Regions from separate parts of the Homo sapiens genome. Here region 1 is linked to region 2. The links are contacts of gene promoters, found by promoter capture Hi-C in human tissues and cell types (Jung and others, 2019). All regions are on one chromosome and are shown on one strand. Each heading gives the region's core, a stretch centred on a gene start or on the middle of the fragment in contact. The rest is flanking DNA. Distances are from core to core; before and after follow the strand shown.

Region 1 (2,725 bases), core at 52-2,551, 440 kb before region 2:
ACACTTCTAAATCCAACAACCAATTCCTCCAAATGTAACAGATCAAATTTGGAATAAATCACCTACATCGTGTTAATTTGATTTTTTATATCGCTTATAAGCATCCATAACCTAATTTATTTCCTCAAATGTATTAAACTACTTGAGAGTAAGCTTAGATAATCTTTCCTGTTTTAATGTTGATTTCTTTTTAAAAGAAAATACACTATCGGACTCAGGGATTATAGTCTTGGTGAATGGACAATATATCACACATGCACATGAAAAAGACTATAATATTAAAGAGGATATAAATTGGTATACTGCACATGCAGTGTTTAAAGATAATATATCTAAAGTTAACTTTTATGTTATTATTTTCACACATATTTACTATCCTCTGCTTCCCTCTACTAATCATTCAAATTTTATATTTTTTAAATCTAGATATTTATTTCAATACTGTCTTATCTTCTCAATGTCTCATATTACAAAATATTCATGAGAATGATTAAGATACTTTCAGTGGCATCGATGATATTAAAATTTGACGATTAGTTGAATATGGCACTATCAATATTTTCCAGGAGCAGTGTTGGCTTTGTACTGGCACGGCCATACACTTTACTGGTTGTCTATACCAGCTTGCTCCTGCCAGGGTGCATTTATGGCCACAGGACATCTTGAGAGCAATGGGCCCACACAAGGTTTCTATTTTGACAGGATGATATGGTGAGTAATAGGCACTGGAATTGAATAGACTTGGGTGCAAATCCCAGCTCTGCTACTTACTAGCTGTATGATCTTGGGCATGTTTTTAAACCTCCATGCTTCAATTCTCTCAGCTATAAAATGGAGGGGACCACAGGGTTGTAAAGATTAAACTTTTTTTAATGTTTAAAATTATATAGACCCCTTCAATCCCATAATTTAGAAAACCTCAAGTGCAGTTAACCTTGAGTTTTTCTTCATATTTTAATCTTATATGAAGGCAGTGATTGCAAATCTAGTGAATTTTTTGTTGTTGTTGTTATTGTTGTTGTTTGAGACAGAGTTTTGCTCTTACTGCCCAGGCTGGAGTGCAGCGGTGCAATCTCGGCTCACTGCAACCTACACCTCCTGGTTCAATCGATTCTTCTGCCTCAGCCTCCCGAGTAGCTGGGAATACAGGCATGCGCCACCATGCCCGGCTAATTTTTTATTTTTAGTAGAGACGGGGTTTCACCATGTTGGTCAGGCTGGTCTTGAACTCTTGACCTCAGGTGATCCGCCCACCTTGGCCTCCCAAAGTGCTGGGATTACAGGCATGAGCCACTGCACCCGGCCTTGTTTTGTTTTTTTTAAATCCTAACCTCAAACAATGCTAATCTTCCCCTAGTCTGGTGATGGTACCTTTATTTATTCCCAAGTTTAACAGAGACTATATCAGAGAGAAGAGTTTAAAAACCACCACTTGCAGGCAATTCATTTCTTATATTTGATTTTCTGTGATATAGGCAGGGAAGAACATAAAAAAGACAGAAATTTTAAAATAAAACCAACATCTTCTAGCTCTAACCCCACAATCTTGATGTTCCTTTATGATATTAGACGCTTTTCTTCTTCCACATGAATCCTTAGTCACAAGTTGACATATTTTACTTTACAGTTATTGGGTTTTTGTTGTTGTTGTTTTTGTTTTTATGAGACAGGGTCTTGCTCTGTTGCCCAGGCTGGAGTGGAATGGCACGATCTCAGCTCACTGCAACCTCCACCTCCCGGGTTCAAGCAATTCTCGTGCCTCAGCCTCCCGAGTAGCTGGGACTACAGGCATGCACCACCATGCCTGGGTAATTTTGAATTTTTGATAGAGACGGTTTCACCATGTTGGTCAGGCTGGTCTTGAACTCCTGACCTCAAGTGATCTGCCCGCCTCAGCCTCCCAAAGTGCTAAGATTACAGGCATGAGCCCTGGTACCCGGCCAAGTTATTGGGTGTTTTATCCCAAATTACAAAGTCATCCAGTCGAAGAGGCCTGAACACCCTCTCCCATGCTCAATTTAAACAACTGAATTACAGATCGTCATTAATGTACTTTATGCCCTTCCTCCATCCCCTCTAGGATAGGGGACGTACCTCTTTTCTGTAATCCTGTAATATTGTGTATATTAATTACTGCAATCACAATTGTGGTTCTCCAGTTGTATCTGCTTGTCCCACTGCACTGTACACCTTAAAGGCAAGAACTCTGTATTTTTTGTTTTTTTTTTTCTAAGACAGGTTATGGCTGTATTGCCCAGGCTGGAGTGCAGTGCAGTGGCATGATCACGGCTCACTGCAGCCTTGACTTTCTGGGACTGAAGCCATCCTCCCACCTCAGCTTCCTGGGAAGCCAGGACTACAGGTGAGTGCCACCACGCCCGGCCTATTTATTTATTTATTTGAGACGGAGTCTCCCTCTGTCACCAGGCTGGAGTGCAGTGGCACAATCTTGGATCACTGCAACCTCTGCGTCCTTGGTTTAAGTGATTCCCCTGCCTCAGCCTCCCGAACAGCTGTGACTACAGGCGCGTGCCACCACGCCCAGCTTATTTTTGTATTTTTAGTGGAGACGGGGTTTCACCATGTTGGCCAGGATGGTCTCCATCTCTTGACCTTGTGATCCGCCCGCCTTGGCCTCCCAAAGTGCTGGGATTACAGGCATGAGCCACTGTGCCCAGCCCCAGCTAATTTATTTTTATTTTTATTTTTTGTAGAGACAAGGTCT
Region 2 (2,943 bases), core at 335-2,834:
TGAGCACCCTTCTTGGGGCAGAACCACTTATTTCTCATAGTGCTTAGTCCATACATCTATGGTAGCACTTATTGGATCCTTGTGTGTGTGTGTGTGTGACCTCAGAGCTTAAGATGGTCCCTGGTGCATAGTGATGACTCTGTCAATGTTTGGGACAAGAGTGAAGTTCTAAATAGGGCACAATGGATTTAACTGCTGGCACCAAATCCCTCCCCTGTGAAAACAGCCCCAGCCTCTGAGTCCTGTCTACAGTCTCAGCCCACCCCAGACCCATTCTCTTTGCAGGGATCCTCAAACCTCCCTTTGCAAGAAGATCTTCTGGATGCTTTTTTCACAGGTAGAGCATCCTTCCTGCGCCACAAAAGGTTGAGTGGGTAGTGATCAATTCATGCTCAGTGAATTAGATTTGTTCAGAGAGGCCCAGAGATGGGGTAATGATCCCATGGGTAAAAGATCCATGTCTGGAGAAAGGATAGGTGTGCACCTAGAAGAAGAGAAGAGAGTGGGGCTCATTTATATTCTGAGATTTAAATGAGATGTGGCGGGAGGACTCTTCATCCCATCTGATTAAACCTACACAAGAGTTCATGTGGGGGCACACAAAGACTAACTAAGGATATTCTCTACGTTCTACTCAACTTTTGGGATGTAGCTTAGAATCCTAAAACACAGTACTACAGAAAGCCTCGAAACTAGGCTAGATTCTCCTCCCATCCCATCCAGGCTTCTCCGCAGCAGAAATAGGTGTTTAATTAAATGGAATAATATAGTTCTCCTTTCATACCTCAGGAGATCAATGAGCCCATAGCTAGCACTCACATATTTATAGACTGAAGAAATGAACATATTCTGGGGCTCAAGGAGATCACCACCTACTGGGGAGGCAGGGGAGAAGGGAGGATGCTAGGACCCTGCTATCCCCACTACACGGCACATTGCAGTCTAGGGTTCACCGTGCAGTAGAAAGGAGAAGCAAAGCGATGAAACCCTCGTGGGATTCGTGAAGGCTTTATGGAAAAGCGATGTGATGATCAGTGGGATTTCTAGGGGGAAGGGATCCAGGGCCAGCAACCAGCTGAAGGAAAGGCTGAAAGGAGGGAAATGCAGGGTACGATCTGGATGGAGTTAAAATGGCAGAAAACTGAGGCTGAGTGAGAGGTCTGGTACTGAGGTGGGGATCGGAGTTCCAGCACTGGCCTTTGACAGCCTCTGGGTCCCAGGTGGAATGGGTAGGGCCAGAGCCCTTGCCTTCTTCTCCAATCAACACCAGGGGTGTGGTGTCTTAGGCAAGGATGGGTGCTGTGCGCCCTGCCGCCCACCATAGGCAGGGCCTGGGAACCCGGGGAGGACTCTCCCCACCTCCAGCCTCCGGCAGTGTCCGCCAGGCAGGGCGGGGGCCAGCGCTGGTGTTGAGTAGTGGACCCCAGGGGGATGACTAAGCCTTGCCTGCGAGCAGACTCGAGCATGCCAAGTTATGAGACGATGATAACTCTGCCCCGAGCCTCTGGGGTCGTGGCCGTGGGCCGGCAGGGGCGAGGCGGGCGTCCAGAGGGCGGATAAAAGGGGCCGCGCTGCGCCGGGGCCGCTTTCTCCGCGCGGTGCCTGCAGGGCTCCCAGCGAGTGGCAGCTTGGGAGGGGCCGCCCGGGCGGTCAGACTGGCACCTGAGCGGCCACCGCGTCCCGGCCAGGCGGGCAGACCGACCCCCTCCTCACCTCGCGCGCGGCTGACGCAGGCAGGGCGCCCGGCCCCTCCTGGGGACCATCAGGTGCCGGCTGGGGGCTGTAGGCACCGGACGGAAGCAGGCGGTGTGAGGACCGACGACGCGGGCATGGCGGGGGCGGCCTGCGAGCCGGTGGCCAGGCCGAGCCTGACCTCCATCTCGTCTGGGGAGCTTCGCAGCCTGTGGACCTGCGACTGCGAGCTGGCCCTGCTGCCGCTGGCTCAGCTGCTGCGCCTGCAGCCCGGTGCCTTCCAGCTGAGCGGCGACCAGCTCGTGGTGGCCAGGCCCGGGGAGCCGGCGGCGGCGCGGGGGGGCTTCAACGTCTTCGGTGACGGCCTCGTGCGCCTCGACGGGCAGCTCTACCGCCTCAGCAGCTACATCAAGAGGTGGGTGGCCTCGCCGTGCGCCCTGGCCCGTCGCCTGGTACCCGCAGACGCCTCCACCCGGCTGCGGTCTCTGGGAGCCTGGGCTGTCCTCGCTGCCTGCGACACCGCGTGGCCCCTTGCTCCGTGCGCTTCTAGACTTTCCTTCTGCTTCTATCACCCGGAGCCTGCACGCTCGCCCTGGTTCTTCTGCCTCTTGCACTGACATTTTGCAGCTGCTGCTTGAAGCCGCCCAGAAGGGCATCAGGACTGGGGGCGAGGGGGAGGGCAGGGGCCCCCCAGCCAGAGCTCATGAGTGGCAGATGCTTCTCCCATTCTGGCTCCTTAACTGGGTCAGATGAGCTCAAATTGGGAGCACACCCTTTAGGGGCTGTCTGCAGCTCTGCAAGACTCACATCCTGGCTTTGGAGCATGGGTGGCGGTGAGGAGCAGGGGGCATGCACCATTCTGAGCACTGCCAGCCCTCTCCAGTGAGGAGACCGAGTGGAGAAGCATGCAAAAGCTCAAAGTTTCCCATCTCTGGCCTCACTTCGTGTTTCAAAAGTAAACAAATAAACCGCAGCTGAGAAGGGAACAAAGCCCCTGGAAGTCCAGCCCGGGGCCATGTGGGCTGTGGAAGGCACAGATAAGTTCTGGGGAAATAAGTGCGAAACCTGAGGGCCTTAATGGGAAGGAGGCCCCCAGGATGCTTGACTGTTGTGGCCAGAGTGCCCCCAAGCTCTTCTTGGCAGACCGGCAGGATGTGGCCCAGCCATCTGAAGCAGGCTTTGGTGCCACAGGGTAAAGGAGGGCACTTCAGGCCTGATTCCACATGGCCTCAGGCCTCCAGAGTTCACTCT

Evidence for each region. The method cuts DNA at HindIII sites, captures the fragments that hold promoters and counts their contacts. A contact is called where the count stands out against the background at its distance.
Region 1: a fragment that was not itself captured here is called in contact with the fragment with the promoter of MEDAG in region 2 in 1 of the 25 tissues and cell types used here (dorsolateral prefrontal cortex).

Annotation. Positions count from the first base shown.
Region 1 is chr13:30,467,249-30,469,973 of GRCh38, forward strand. It overlaps a transcript of HMGB1 not described here. Among named protein-coding and RNA genes, the nearest start is that of HMGB1, 2.7 kb to the left of the region's middle. The HindIII fragment of the contact is 6,825 bases long and covers 1-2,725 here.
Region 2 is chr13:30,904,687-30,907,629 of GRCh38, forward strand. MEDAG (mesenteric estrogen dependent adipogenesis) reads left to right here and starts at 1,585. Exons shown (of 5, transcript NM_032849.4): 1 at 1,585-2,107. The coding sequence starts at 1,830. All of the region lies in intron 2 of TEX26-AS1 (TEX26 antisense RNA 1), which reads right to left. RefSeq lists an enhancer at 2,186-2,687. The HindIII fragment of the contact is 12,319 bases long and covers 1-2,943 here.